Regions from separate parts of the Homo sapiens genome. Here all the other regions are linked to region 1. The links are contacts of gene promoters, found by promoter capture Hi-C in blood cells and fetal thymus (Javierre and others, 2016). All regions are on one chromosome and are shown on one strand. The core of a region is centred on a gene start or on the middle of the fragment in contact, and the rest is flanking DNA. Distances in the headings are between cores, read along the strand shown. Region 1 holds the start of WWC3 (WWC family member 3). Region 2 has its middle 15 kb from the start of ANOS1. Region 3 overlaps HCCS (holocytochrome c synthase). Region 4 overlaps HCCS-DT (HCCS divergent transcript).

Region 1 (3,756 bases), core at 425-2,924:
GACAATCGAGCAAAAAGTTAAGGAAGAGCTTCGTTACATGGAATTAATTAAATGAAATCTGATAGTGCTTTTACAAGAATCAGTTTTTACTTGATTGGGTTTTTATACGTGAATAAGACAGCTTTGTACCCCATGCATATCTTTCACAAAAAGGAAACTTAAAATACAATTCTTGTTTTTCGTTTATTCCAAAAGCATATGGGACTAATCATATTGCATTCTGGCTGCAGTACAGAAGGCTATTTCAAACAGTTTTAACTCACGAGTTTTAAGGCGCTAAAGAGCAACTAGAGTTTGGGAACAGACTTCTCCAACTCCAAAAGGGTTGGGAATCCCTCAAGGGCCCGTCTGACATCAGGTTTTGGATGGAAACCAGCCTGAACCCGCCAGACAGGGAACCCGCACCCCAAAGCTGGGGCGCACGTTTGTGATCCAAGGTGACAGCTCATCTCGCCACCGCGGGGCTGGGGACACCTGCAGAACCAGGGCCGGGGCAGTGGGCCGCAGACGCCCGGGACCGGGATGGGCGAGGCTGCCGCAGAGAAAGGAAAAGAGGGCCATCTGTCAGCCCCAGGAGAGGAAATTCCAGGAGCCCAGTTCCCAGGCGCCGGACAGCGGGTGACGTGAGGGAACCGAATGAGAGGGTCCGCCCAGCGGCGGGGGACCTGTAGGCGGCCGGCCTCGGCGCTCAGAGGGCTCGAGGCCTGGAGAAGGGGCACCTCCATTCTTGGTCAGAGCCCTGGGAGTCGGGGTATTGGGAGGGTGGATCCTCTCCCGGACCCCCGGAACCAAAGATCTTCACCCAGCCCCGAGGGCCTCCTGGTGTCTCCGATCCTCTCCCTGGGCCCAAGGGATGGGGGCGCCTCGATCGTAGCCTGGACCGGAGCACTCCAGGGAGTCCCCTGGTTCCGGGGATGGAGGCGCTCCGAGCTCTGCCCGGGCCCGGGGGCTCTCGGCGGCGGCCCCGCGCTGGGCGGGGCGTGTCCCCAGCGCATCCGCGGTGGCGCCGGCCGGCGGCCCGGGTCGTAGCGCCCGCGCCGGGTCTGGCGCCCCCAGCCGGCCCGCTTACCGGTCGCGGGGGTCGATCCACGACGTCTGGCGCGTGTTGTGGTCAATGTAAAAGACGCGACCGTCGTAGTCTCGCGCCTCCTCCCAGCCGGCGGGCAGCGGCAGCTCGGCGCTCTCCCGGGCCCGCGGCGGCGGCGCGGAAGGAGCTGGGGGCGTGGGGACCGCGGCGGGGGGCGCCGGCGGCGCGGTTCCCGCTGGGGCTGCGCAGAAGGCGGCGGCTCCCGCGGGGCCTCGCGCGGCTGTCCCCGCCGTCGCCGCCGGCCGCCGCTCAGCCAAGGCATGACGGCGCGGGCCCCGCCGCCGCCCGGCCGCCCCGCGCGCGCCGCCTCCTCCGCCAGCACTAAGGCCCGGCGCCCGGGGCGCGGGGGCGGCCGCGGGGAGCCGCCCGCCGCTCCTGGCGCATCCTCCGCCCGGCGCCCGTGCACCGGCGTCCGCCCGCCCGCCCTAGCAAGCCGCTGCCCGCGCCGCCCACTCCGTTCAGGTAGCCCGGGTGGCCGCCGCGCGCGAAGTCACAGCCCGGGAGCCGCCGCCGCCGCCGCCGCCGCTGCCGGCCGCCCCTCCGTTCCCGCGGCGCGCCCGGCCATCTTCGTTCCTCGGCGCGGCCCGGGCGAGCAGGGGCAGGGCGTTCGCAGGCCCCGCCTCCGGCCGTCCCGCCCCGTTCTCACCCAGGCCCCGCGGCTCCTCCCACGCCGGCGGCTCCACCCACGCCGGCTGCTCCTCCCGAATCTCCCACGGAGGCTCCCGCTCCTCCCGCCGCCTCTGCTTTTCCACCCACTCCCGCTGCTCCGCCTCCCCCGGCCCCGCGTCCTCCGCGCCTCTCCGTCGCCGGCTGCTCCGCCCCCAGTCTCCCTCGGGGTCCTCCTCGGCGCTCGGCTCCTCGACCCCACCCCCACCCCTCCGCTTGCTCCTCCCCCTCCGCCGTCCTCCCTCTCCGCGCGCTCCTCGCTCTCTCCCTCCCGCTCCGCCACCTTCCTCCGGCCTCGGGAAACCGCATGGAGGCCAGGATGGGCGCCGCCGCGTCAGTCCGCCCCCGGGCCCCCGCGTAGAGGAAGGCGGGCGGGGAGGACGACGCCCTACCCGGACTGCGGGCGCGGCCTGCCTGGGGTGACTCCTCGGGCGCAAACAATTCCCGAGAGAGCGGGCAGTGCCCTCCCTTCACCCGCTCCCGGGCTCTGGCTGTCTGGAGACCCTCTGCGCACTTGGCGGGAGGCTGCGCCCTCGGTCTCCCACACAACCCGTCTGGTCCCGCGAAGGTGGGAAAAGCCCCTGAAGGCGGGGCCGAGGGAGCTGAGGAGCTGGGGGAGCCCGCGGCCGGTCCTCTCGGGCGGCGCAGGGAGGACGCCTCTGGAAGCGGGCAGCTGGGCAGGTGGCCACTTTGCGTCCCCGCCAGGACAGCCCTAGAAGGGCTAACCTGGGGGCCCACACTAGGCGGGAGTTCCTTGACCTTCCCTGAGCGCTTCATCCGGTTTGTGGGGTCTGATCGTTTGAGCGGAGACCCAAGTAGACCATTGCTGGGGAGGAAGCCGGGTCAACTCCTAAAACTTTCAGCCTAGACGGGAACTTCTGTTTCACTGGCTCCCAGCTGGGGAAGCTGAAGCTCCAGAGTTGGGGCTGTGTCTTGCTCTAAATCTCCCACCTACTTCGTGCCCCAGACCCACAGCCGCAACACGTTATGCCAGGAAATGCAGGACAGTATCAGGGAGATTTTTAAACAGTTACAGTGATACAAAAATATCTGGTAGAGCCTGATTGAAATCCAGATACACAGGGGAAGAGACTGGAGGAAAATGTCCTGAAATGCTCACAAGAGTTTGCATTCCTTTGGCGGGATTTTTAAAAATGATTTGCCTTCCAATTTTTTGTAAAATGGTAATATTACTTTTATGAGGGGAAAGGTTGTTTTAAAAAAGAAGAATGGGCCGGGCGCGGTGGCTCACGCTTGTAATCCTAGCACTTTGGGAGGCCCAGGCGGGCGGATCACGAGGTCAGGAGTTCGAGACGAGCCTGGCCAGCATGGTGAAATCCCCGTCTCTACTAAAAATACAAAAATTAGCCGGGCATGGTGGCGCACGCCTGTAATCCCAGCTACTCGGGAGGCTGAGGCAGGAGAACTGCTTGAACCTGGGAGGTTGCAGTGAGCTGAGATCGCGCCACTGCACTCCAGCCTGGACGACAGAGTGAGACTCCATCTCAACAACAACAAAAAAAAAATTAGAAGAATGTGGGGCCGGGCTCGGTGGCTCACACCTTTAATCCCAACACTTTGGGAGGCTGAGGTGGGAGGATCACTTGAGCCAGGGAGGTCGAGGCTGCAGTGAGCCGTGTTTGCACGATTGCACTCCAGGCTGGGCGATGGAACAGAGACCCTGTCTCAAAAAAAAAAAAAAAAAAAAAAAAAGAAGAAGAAGAAGAAGAAGAATGTGAAGTTGTGAAGGTATAGCGACGTCCAAAAAACTATCCAAGGAAGGTCTTTCCTCTCCCTCCTCCTACTACAACACAGAAACTTTCTTGCTCCCCAAGTATCTATCTACCCCTACCTGAATGTTCTATGTGAGAAATTCCACCGCATGAGTCCTTTTAAACATGTGTGATTATTACATGTCCAAGGGAAAGAGTGGGAGGGTCAAAAAAGCACATATTTTGTGATGTCGCATGTGCCAGGGAATGCCCCAAGTGCTGAGTGTCCCT
Region 2 (3,756 bases), core at 485-2,984, 1.3 Mb after region 1:
ATTTTTCCTTCGAAACATCACCCAAAATGTTTTGAATGAAACATTCTGTGCTGTGGGTTGTTTAACATCTTTTTTAAAATATTGTGTCCTGTGTTGTGTGTGTGTATCTGTGTGCATACGTGTGTGTTACGTGTTCGTGTCTGTGTGTGTGTCTCTGTGTGTGTGTTGTTATATAATGCTGTTTTAGTTGAAGGATGTGTTTATTTATTTGGTTGGTTTTCCTAGAACTAATGGATGATTTGAAAAACATGGGATTGGTTATGTCAGTGCTTCTCAATTGGGGAGCGGGGCGATTTTGCCCCACCGGGGTCCCTTTGGCAATGTCGGAGACACAGTTGGTGTTGTAAGTGGTAAGAGGTTCTACTACCATCTAGTGGTGAAAGGCCAGGGTTGTTGCTAAAAATCCCACACAGAAGACAGTCTCCAAGACGAAGAGGGATCCTGTCTAAAACGTCAATGGGGTTGATGTTGAGAAACCATGAGTTTCCCATTATTTTAATCCAATTACCAGGACTTTTCTGAAATCTACTATTTGAATTTAGGGAAAAGTATTCTTCTTGTTGATTCTCTAACCTGGAGGCATTCAAATCACCAAGGTGCTTTAAACAATACTGACACCAAAGCCACCCCAGACCAATTAAATGTGGATGTCTCGCAGTAGGGCCTAGGCCTCTGCATTTTAAAATTCCTAATAGTTTTTAGCATTGAGCAGCACCCATTTAAATGATATAATGTAGGCCGGGCGCGGTGGCTCGCGCCTGAAATCCTAGCACTTTGGGAGGCCGAGGTGGGCAGATCACGAGGTCAGGAGATCGAGACCATCCTGGCTAACACAGTGAAACCCCGTCTCTACTAAAAATACAAAAAATTAGCCCGGCGGGCTAATTAGTGTGGCGGGCACCTATAGTCCCAGCTACTCGGGAGGCTGAGGCAGGAGAATGGCGTGAACCCGGGAGACGGAGCTTGCAGTGAGCCGAGATCGCACCACTGCACTCCAGCCTGGGCAACAGAGCAAGACTTCGTCTCAAAATAAATAAATAAATAAAATAATGCAGGAACTCAAAACCACCCACAGTTGATTTATCTTATCCACACTAAAAGTATCCACAAATAAAATGACACAATTCTCCAACTTAAACCAGAATTTAACAGCTGTCATTACTCCATAAGTTCCTATGTACTTGTTTATATTTTATAAAAGAAGATTTTCTTTCACTTAAAGAAAAATCCACATTAAAAAACAGAAAAGAAAGTTTTGGAATATAATAAAAGTATTTCCTTCTTTGTTTTGACAACTTTGTGGCAACCTTCAAGTTCTAAGTCCATTTCTTTATAGTGAATATTTCAGTGACTCATCAGAGAGGCAAGCTAATAATAATAATAATAATAATAGTTCACCTTATGTAGTATTTCATGCTGTTAGTGTGTGAGATTGCAAGTCTAAATCAAAGCCATTATAATTTATCTGTAATTAGAAACCAGCACTTGCCGAGCAAGGTGCTTGTAATCTCAGCACTTTAGGAGGCTGAGGCAGGCGAATCACTTGAGGCTGGGAGTTCAAGACCAGCCTAGCCAACATGGAAAAATCCCATCTCTACCAAAAAATACAAAAATCAGCCAGATGTGGTAGCACCTGCCTGTAATCTCAGCTGCTCAGGAGGCTGAGGCAGGAGAATCGCTTGAACCCAGGAGGCGGAGGCTGCAGTGAGCTGAGATCACGCCACTGCGCTCCAGCCTGGATGACAGAGCGAGACTGCATCTCAAAAAACAAACAAACAAAGAACAACAACAACAACAACAATAAAACTCAGCACATAAAAATGCCTGTGGATTGAGAATTTTAAAATCGCTTTTAGAATAATTAGCGGTGGGGGGAGGGGGGAGGGATAGCATTGGGAGATATACCTAATGCTAGATGACGAGTTAGTGGGTGCAGCTCACCAGCATGGCACATGTATACATATGTAACTAACCTGCACAATGTGCACATGTACCCTAAAACTTAAAGTATAATAAAAAAAAAAGAAGAATAATTAGCTGTGGTTTGAACTTAAACAGTCTGCTTTTTTACTTGGATTCTTATTCACTTCCCTTCACTTTAATTACAGTGGTGCAAGTATTATCTCTCTCTCTCTCTCCACCCCCGTCTCTTTCTCTCTTTCTCTCTCTCTCTGTCTCTCTCCGTCTCTCTCCGTCTCTCCCCACCATGTGCTCAGAACTTTCCCGGAATTAGTTACGAAGTTAGAAATAAACAGAAGTTGACTTATCATATTACTGAATAGTCTCCCAATAGCATTTAAAAAGCACATTTAACAGGAGTCTCTCCTGAAACTCACCCAAGTAATTGGAAAGTAAATGAGTCTTAACAGAGATAAAAGAATACAATTCAATAAAAGTAGCAGAAAACCTCAAATGACTGACACAGAGAGATTTCCCACATATTACTTCCCAATATTGCATTACTTAAAATTTGCCCAAATTACCCGTCTGCACATTCCAGAGCTCACCAACCTGTAGATATAAGGAAAGACATATTATTGTAGTAACTATTTTTCTAGCTTGTGGTGCCTTTTAAAATCCTCTGAAATCTCCTTATAGCTGTTTTATACCCACACTTACTCCTATGTGATCTCATTTGGCCCATTTTATTTTGAACATTATGCATATAATGCTGATCCTGAAATCCGTGTCTCCCAGGAGAGTGAAAAACTATAAAGAAAGGCATTCCCTCCCTGCAGACAGGCACAGTGAGCTCCACAGAAGGCCAGCCTCATTCTTATGCCTTTGCGTCCTCATAGCTTAGCTCCCACATATCAGTGAGAACACACAATGTTTGGTTTTCCATTCCTGAGTTACTTCACTTAGAATAATAGTCTCCAATCTCATCCAGGGCACTGCAAATGCTGTTAATTCATTGCTTTTTATGGCTGCATAGTATTCCATCATATATATATCACAGTTTCTTTATCTACTTGTTGATTGATTTGGGTTGGTTCCACAATTTTGCAATTGTGAATGGTGCTGCTATAAACATGTGTGTGCAAACATCTTTTTCGAATAATGACTTCTTTTCCTCTGGGTAGATATCCAGTAGCAGGATTGCTGGATCAAATGGTAGTTCTACTTTTAGTTTTTTAAGGAATCTCCACACTGTTTTCCATAGCGACTGTATTAGTTTACATTCCCACCAGCAGTGTAGAAGTGTTCCCTGTTCATCGCACCCATGCCAAAGATTGGAGACTTGGGGAGAAGAGCGGGAGGGGGACGAGAGACAAAAAAACTACAAATATGGTGCAGTGTACACTGCTCAGGTGATGGGTGCACCAAAATCCCACTAATCACCACTGAAGAACTTACTCATGTAACCAAATACAACCTGTACCCCAATAACTTATGGAAAAATAAAAATAATAATAAAAAAAGAAGACCAGTGTCATTGCAAGCATGGGTTGTTTAAACCACGGAGTTCTCATCTTCTCCTCATGTGTCAGTTCCCTGTCTTGGACTCTTTACCTTCTCATTTTTTCTGACAGTGACATATTGTTTCACTAGGTACTTGAGACAGCTCTACAAAAGTCTAGGGCTATTTTATCCCCAAGGCTAACACTTTTCAGTCATCTGAACACTATCTTTTGGTTCCTTATTATTCCTAAGAAAAACACTCAATTACTAAGCCTTATTCTTCTCTGACTTTCCATCCAGAAAGAATACAAAACAAACAAACAAACAAACCATTGCTTTCTGACCCATTCTTTT
Region 3 (3,756 bases), core at 867-3,366, 1.1 Mb before region 1:
CTTTTTCTTCCAAACTAGAGAGTGCACAAGCATGAAATAGACACTTTACCACTTACACCAATGGCATGAAATTTTACTGAAGGTACAGTGACAATCTCTACTGCAGCAGTAAATGTTTTTCTTTTTAAAGTTCAGAGGCACATGTGCACACTTGTTACATAGGTAAACTTGTGTCATGGGGGTTTGTTGTACAGATTATTTTGTCACCCAGGTATGAAGCCTAGTACCCATTAGCTGTTTTTCCTAAGCCACTCCCTCCTCCCACCCTCCACCCTCCAATAGGCCCCAGTGTGTGCTGTTCCCCTCTGTGTTCTTATCATTTAGCTCCCACTTATAAATGAAAACGTGATATTATTTGTCATGAGTGGCGCAAGGCATAATTCATATGCTTCATTTTGATATACTATATACCCCCCAAATTATATAATTTTTTAAATGTTACCTTAAGTTACAAGGAATATACATGGCTTTTGAAATAATTTTTGATCTTTTTCTTTGCAGTAAACAACCTTGTAATATGTTTTGAATCCGGATATGTAATATATTTTCACAGAGGGGGATAACCTTGTGACCCAAAGGACATTACAGTGAGCTATATTTTAGATTAAGAAGCACAAGAATCGCAGCACTTTGGGAGGCCGAGGTGGGTGGATCACTTGAGGTCAGAAGTTCAAGACCAGCCTGACCAACATGGTGAAACCCCATCTCTACTAAAAATACAAAAAAATTCGCTGAGTGTGGTGGTAGGCACCTGTAATCCCAGCTTCTCAGGAGGCTGAGGCACAAGAATCACTTGAACCCAGGAGGTAGAGGTTGCATTGAGCCGAGATCATGCCAGTGCACTCCAGCTTGGGTATCTGTCTTAATATAATATTTCTTTTTGTCAAGTGGGACTTGCATATCAAGTACCTAATTTGTTACCCTGATATTTTTTGAAAGATCAAAGGCTGTAACCTGTTCTTTTTCCATTTGATGATTTTAAATAACATGAGCTTTCTTAGAGCAAGCACCCAAACACCTGGTAATCCTTAAAATTGATCAAAATGGGGATTAGAGCCTGCTGTTACCCCTCTAAACTGATTCTCCTGGTGGCGGAGTGGGGCGGGGAATAAGGCCAGAGGATGAGAGAAGTAGATTATATCTCAGCACTTTGATTTCTCTCCTTGCTGTTGTTGATCAATGGTGATAGCTAATATTTGCTGAACATTTCCACCCACAGACTCTGTTCCCAGCGCTTTTAGGCATCACCTCAAAGTACCTGCAAAACAACTCTGATAAGTTGGTTCTATTACTCTCATTTCATAGCCGAGAAAGCTGAGGCCCAGAGACATTAAGATCACACAGCGACTAAAGGGCAGGGCAAGGACTCTGCCTCCAGGACACACATTTGTAATCATCACACACACAGCCTCAAGCCTATGGTGACACAAATGACGGGTCATACAATTCTGACAGTCACTGCAAAGGTGAGACAGGAAATGTGCATTGCTTCATTTTCCCTAAGAAGCAATCTCTGGGAGAAGATAAACCATAATGATGACTCAGTAAAGAAATTGGTAACTATCTCTAAATATTCAAAAATACTTACGTGAATTCTCACACTGTGTGTTACCACAATGTGTTCCTTAAATTGGAGTTCTAGCATTTACCACCATTTCATTTATAGACTGTCCATAAGATTGTTGAGTTCCCTGCAAGTAGGGGTATTAGTCTGTTCCCATGCTGCTAATAAGGACATGCCCAAGACTGGGTAATTTATAAAGGAAAGAAGCTTAATGGACTCACAGTTCCACATGGCTGGGGAGGCCTCACAATCATGGTGAAAGGCGAAGGAAGAGCAAAGGGATGTCTTACGTGGCAGCAGGCAAAAGAAGTTGTGCGGGGAACTCCCATTTAAAGAACCATCAGATCTCCTGAGACTTATTCACTACCAGGAGAACAGTATAGGGGAAACTGCCCCCATGATTTAATTATCTCCACCTTGCCCTGCCCTTGACACGTGGGGATTATTAAAATTCAAGGTGAGATTTGGGTGGGGCCACAGCCAAACCATATCAGGGTTATACCTTTTGCAATTTTGTATTCCTTATACGATGCACAAAGGGGACATAAACATTTTGTTAGCCAGTGACTGACAGGAATACTAAATGTTAATATGCAATCCATTTGTAGCCCCAGCTTGTCTGCCAATACTTAGCCTGATGTTCAGTAATTTGTTCTGATTCTGAATAGTGCTATTTCCACAGACACAAGACTTAGTTTAAAACTCCAGAGAATATCCTAAATGAGTTTCAAGCTGTACACGAAAACTCCTATCAGTATTGACCCCTGGACCCAATCAAGCATAATCTAGACACAAAGCAGCTCTGACAATCCAGGAAGCCATGGTTTTTTCTGGAAGTAGTAAAACGATGTATAAAACTTGATCTTGTCATCAAGTTTGCTTGAGTTTAAAGCTTGTTTACCACAGTCCTATAAAACAGGTGAATCCTGCCTTTGGCATATTTTTTGTTTCCAGTTAGTGTTTTGTCTTTCATAAGAATGTCTTATCCCACACTCATTCGATAGCACTTAAGACCCCCCCAAAAAATGCCAACAGTAATTATTTTCCTCTACAGTTTAAAAATATGTGATTAGGGCTGGGTGCGGTGGCTCACGCCTGTAATCCCAGCACTTTGGGAGGTCAAGGCGGGTGGATCATGAGGTCAGGCGTTCAAGACCAGCCTGACCAACATGGTGAAGCCCCGTCTCTACTAAAAATACAAAAATTAGCCAGGCGTGGTGGCATGCACCTGTAATCCCAGCTACTCGGGAGGCTGAGGCAGGAGAATCGCTTGAACTCGGGAGGTGGAGGTTGCAGTGAGCTGAGATTGTGCCACTGAACTTCAGTCTGGGTGACAGAGCGTGACTCCCATTTCAAAAAAAAAAAAAAGATTAGTAGATGAAAAAGTGGCTGCTTGGAGTAGGGAGACTATAGCATTGTTTTTTTTAAAAAAAAATTATTATACTTTAAGTTCTGGGGTACATATGCAGAACGTGCACTTTTGTTACATAGGTATACACATGCCATGCTGGTTTGCTGCAGCCATCAACCCGTCATCTATATTAGGTATTTCTCCTAATGCTATCCCTCCACTAGCCTCCTCCCCACCCCCCCCAACCCCCCCCACCCCCCCCCGGCCCCGAGACGGGCCCCAGTGATGTTCCCTTCCCTGTGTCCATGTATTCTCATTGTTCAACCCCCACTCTTGAGAACATGCGGTGTTTGGTTTTCTGTTCTTGTGATAGTTTGCTGAGAATTATAGTTTCCAGCTTCATCCATGTCCCTGCAAAGGACATGAACTCATCCTTTTTTGTGGCTGCATAGTATTCTGTAGTATATATGTGCCACATTTTCTTTATCTAGTCTATCATTGATGGGCATTTGGGTTGGTTCCAAGTCTTTGCTATTGTGAACAGTGCTGCAATAAACATATGTGTGCTGGGTTATAAATCATTCTATCATAAAGCATTGGTTTTATAAAGATAATACGTCTGAAGAAACAATCGTTAAGTGTAAAATTATTCCAAAAAATTTTCAAAACCTGTGAACTAATCAGCTTTATTTTAAAATATACAAGTATTTTGAAATGTAGAGTTTAAGGCTGTTCTATTTCTTAAACTCCACACAAAACTGACAAATCCATACCAAATTAATCACCCACAGACTGCCAATTTCATCCACTAATTTAACACTACAGCATTCAGGATAAATTA
Region 4 (3,756 bases), core at 861-3,360, 1.1 Mb before region 1:
TTATAATCTTCTATGATTTCTGGATGTTGTGGCATAATTAAAAATATTTTAAGTCCTAAATTCTCCCAAGTTTCTTCAATTAAAAAAATTACACTTTTTCCTTTAAACCATTTATATATTTGAAACTTATCCTGGTGAAAGGAATAAGGTATAGCTGTGCTATGGTATGAATATGACTTGTTTGTCCCCATCAAAGCTAATTTTGAAATTTGATCTGCAGTGTGGCAGTGCTGGGAGCTGGGGCCTAATGGAAGATGTCTGGGTCATGGGGTAAATCCTTCATGAATGACTTGGTGACTTTCTAATGGTAGTGGGTTCTCACTCTCACAAGACTGGATTAATTCTCGGGAATGGATTGGTTCCGGCAAGAGCAGGATTGTTACAAAGTGAGGATCCCCCTCATGTTTACTCTCTCTTCACATGTGCCTGGTTTGCCTTTGACTTTCTCTGCTGACTCAACATGAAAGCCCTCACCAGAAGCTGAGAAGATGCCGGTTCCATGCTTCTTGAACAGCCTATAGAACTCTAAGCCAAACAAACCTCTTTTCTTTATAAACTACCCAGCCTCAGGTATTTTGTTGTAGTAACACAAAATGGACTAAAGACAAGCTCCAATGACTACATCCATTTTATACTCTCCTATGTTTTGGATTCTCTTGTCTTTAGTCTTAATGTTTGTGTGTTTATTTTGGATTTTCCAGGGATTATTTCATATAATCTCAACTAATAATGATTTTACTTCCTCCCGTCCAACTTTAATGCCTCTAATTTCTTTTGTTTTTTTTTTTTTTTTTTTGAGACGAAGTCTCGCTCTTGTTGCCCAGGCTGGAGTGCAATGGCATGATCTCGGCTCGCTGCAACCTCCACCTCCCAAGTTCAAGTGATCCTCCTACCTCAGCCTCCCAAGTAGGTAGGATTACAGGCACCTGCCACCATGCCCGGCTAATTTTTGTATTTTTTTTTTTTTTTTCAGTAGAGATGGGGTTTCACCATGTTGGCCAGGCTGGTCTCAAACTCCTGACCTCAGGCGATCCGCCCACCTCGGCCTCTCAAAGTGCTGGGATTACAGGCGTGAGCCCCTGCGCCTGGCCTCATGCCTCTAATTTCTTTCTCCTGCATAGGCTAAGACTTTCCAGCAAAACGTTAAATAAAAGTGGCAGTAGACATTCCTAATTTTTGTGGAAAAGTGTCTAGTGTCTATCCATTAAGCATTTTGCGAACTTTTAGATTGGCATAAAGTTTTTTGTCATGTTTAAGAAGTATCCATATATCTCTATTTTGTTATGAGTGTTTTACAAAATCAGCAAGTAATTTAGTGAATGGGTTTTCATAGAAGATGATAAAGGGGCAGAGTTTCCCCTCTAGGTCAATGTAAACTGAGCCAGCACAAGCAGAGAGAGGAGTCCAGAGGCAGAAGTGACCATAGGAGCCTAAGTCCCTGAGGAGTAACATATAACTCAGGGAAACTTGATATTCCATGGACCATGGACTGGGAGATTCAAGTGAATAAGACCTTGGGGTCCAGGAGATGGGGAGGCCAGGCCTAACTGACAGAGGCTTATACTTTAAGGGTGAATTTATTAAACAAATATTATACAAAATACAATGAGCTGATAATAAAACATTCTTTGTTCTTAAATTTATATATGTGTGCTTGTGTGTACTAATACTGAGGCCCTTAAACCACTAAGATTTAGGATTCTTAAACAAAACAGATTAGGTAAAGTTTGCCTTCCAAAGCCAAGGGGAGAGGGGTGGCCAGGGAAGGAGAATGTTCTGGCTGGAAAGGAGACAAATTCTGAGTAAAGGAAGCTGAAGGACAAACACTTCTACTCAGGATTTAGCATTGGCAGGACTGTTTGGTGTGTAGGAATTTAGAACTGGGTCAGTATTATTTAAAGGACTACAAACCTGGTTTTAAATTTAAAAGGGGTGTGGGGGTGGAGCATGGCAGGTGGTGAACCAAAGGAATTTACTATGATCTGAAAAATAAGCTTAAGTACTAACTCCACTGTGGGCAGGGAGGCAAGAACCTTCCCTTTTTTGAGTTGAAGATAAGCCTCTTCAGTCTAAACTTTCCTAAATTCCACTTCTTCTTTTTCTATAAAACAAGGTGAAGTACTTTATGCTAGCTATCAAAAATCATTGACTGTATGTTGCATGAATTTATGAATTTATTATGCTAGAAAAGTGTTTCTTGGCTACTTCATATGTATATAAGCTTTCTCCCTCAACACAGTTTCTGCTTTTTATTTTTGGAATCTCACATAGCCTATATCTTGTTTTCAGAGTAGATACTATCACTGTGGGTGGCTGAGTTCTCATCTATATGCAACCAAGGCTAACTGGCTCTCTAGGTTACCTTGATGCCACCCACTGAGAGTCCTTTCTGGATTTAGTGATTTAGTGCTGCTTATTTTCACCTTCTCTCAGGATGGAGCCTCAGAATAGAGACCAGGTTGAAAATCAGTCTTTTACTTAGAACCATGAAAGCAGATACTACATCTTATCCGTCTATGACCTGGTGACCCAGAAGCCATTAATTTGACATTACCAACATACCTCCACACAAAGACTTTATAATCTTCAGTGTGAGAATTAAACAAACAAACAAACAAAAACTTAAAACAACTTTGGAGGGGAGAACGATAACCTAAATTTTAAGCATAAGAAAATCCCTAACAAAAAGATCCAACTAATTGCCACTGGGGGGCGATGGAAGTTCGTGAACTGCTCTGCTAATCCCTGAGGCAACTGAGCACTTTAGTTGGTTTATTTATTCAAAGCTGGAATTTGGACGTGTGACCCATCAAGCTCAGGGAAATTCCTGGATGAGGAACACAGTCCTGGGAGAAACCTACCAAAGATGGAATTAGCACCTTGGCGAACCGCCTTCAGCGCAAAGAACTTTCTTTCCTTGTGTGTCTTAAGAATTTACTTCAGTTCCCTTCTGTCTGAAGCAGAGGAAGCCAAGTTAAACTGTGAATAAGCACGACAACAAAGAAGAGTTCTTATTTATCACTACCTGCAAACACATGTAAGTGCACAGTTTAAACAGCATTCAGACATCTCACAGCCACTAGGATCAGAGTTTTGGTGTGAGTAGGCCTCAGTTGGTAACTTTCCTGAGGAAAGGAGGGAGGTTATAGAATTTATGTTAGGAAATTCTGAGTCATAGATAACACTTTAAGTGACAGTTAAGGAATCTAGTGAGAGGGACTTTGGACAGGTTTAGAAAAGTACCCTATGGAAACAAAGGAGGAAAAAAAAAGTATCTTCACTGCAAGAGTAATATTGCAGCCACTTGGTGGCGTGTTGTGGGCTTTATTTCTCCTTCCAGATTCCCTCGGTGGTGTCTGGAACCACTGGTAGGATAGGGGTCCTGGCACCAGACTTTGGCCAGCCCAGTCATCAGGCAATATCAATGTTAGGGGTCCCGTTGCTACTTCTACTTGGTCTTTTTTCCCTTCCCAAGATTGCCAATAAAGTGTCATCAGCAGCCGGGTGTGGTGGCTCATGCCCGCAATCCCAGCACTTTGGGAGGCTGAGGTGGGCAGATCACCTGAGGTCAGGAGTTCAAGATCAGCCTGGGCAAAATGGTGAAATCCCATCTCTACTAAAAAAAAAAAAAAAAAAATTAGCCAGGCGTGGTGGCATGCACCTGTAATCCCAGCTACTCGGGAGGCTGAGGTAGGAGACTCGCTTGAACCCAGGAGGTGGAGGTTGCAGTGAGCTGAGATAGCACCTCTGTACTCC

The links. The method cuts DNA at HindIII sites, captures the fragments that hold promoters and counts their contacts. A CHiCAGO score of 5 or more calls a contact.
Region 2: a contact is called between a fragment that was not itself captured here and the fragment with the promoter of WWC3 in region 1, in 4 of 17 cell types (total B cells, naive CD8 T cells, naive B cells and 1 more). The highest score is 6.6, in total B cells.
Region 3: a fragment that was not itself captured here is called in contact with the fragment with the promoter of WWC3 in region 1 in 1 of 17 cell types (non-activated CD4 T cells); the score reaches 5.3 in non-activated CD4 T cells.
Region 4: a contact is called between a fragment that was not itself captured here and the fragment with the promoter of WWC3 in region 1, in 1 of 17 cell types (non-activated CD4 T cells). The highest score is 6.0, in non-activated CD4 T cells.

Annotation. Positions count from the first base shown.
Region 1 is chrX:10,013,172-10,016,927 of GRCh38, reverse strand. WWC3 (WWC family member 3) reads right to left here and starts at 1,674. Exons shown (of 24, transcript NM_015691.5): 1 at 1,255-1,674; 2 at 1,070-1,252. The coding sequence starts at 1,349. RefSeq lists silencers at 1,702-1,761, 1,802-1,971 and enhancers at 1,792-2,675, 2,676-3,559. The HindIII fragment of the contact is 8,733 bases long and covers 1-3,756 here.
Region 2 is chrX:8,745,656-8,749,411 of GRCh38, reverse strand. No RefSeq gene overlaps it. Among named protein-coding and RNA genes, the nearest start is that of ANOS1, 15 kb to the right of the region's middle. The HindIII fragment of the contact is 4,113 bases long and covers 1-3,756 here.
Region 3 is chrX:11,122,905-11,126,660 of GRCh38, reverse strand. It overlaps HCCS (holocytochrome c synthase), which reads right to left. Exons shown (of 7, transcript NM_005333.5): 7 at 3,575-3,756. Among named protein-coding and RNA genes, the nearest start is that of HCCS, 13 kb to the right of the region's middle. The HindIII fragment of the contact is 685 bases long and covers 1,774-2,458 here.
Region 4 is chrX:11,099,912-11,103,667 of GRCh38, reverse strand. The region is part of intron 2 of HCCS-DT (HCCS divergent transcript); the gene reads left to right. Among named protein-coding and RNA genes, the nearest start is that of HCCS-DT, 9.3 kb to the left of the region's middle. RefSeq lists an enhancer at 365-564. The HindIII fragment of the contact is 227 bases long and covers 1,997-2,223 here.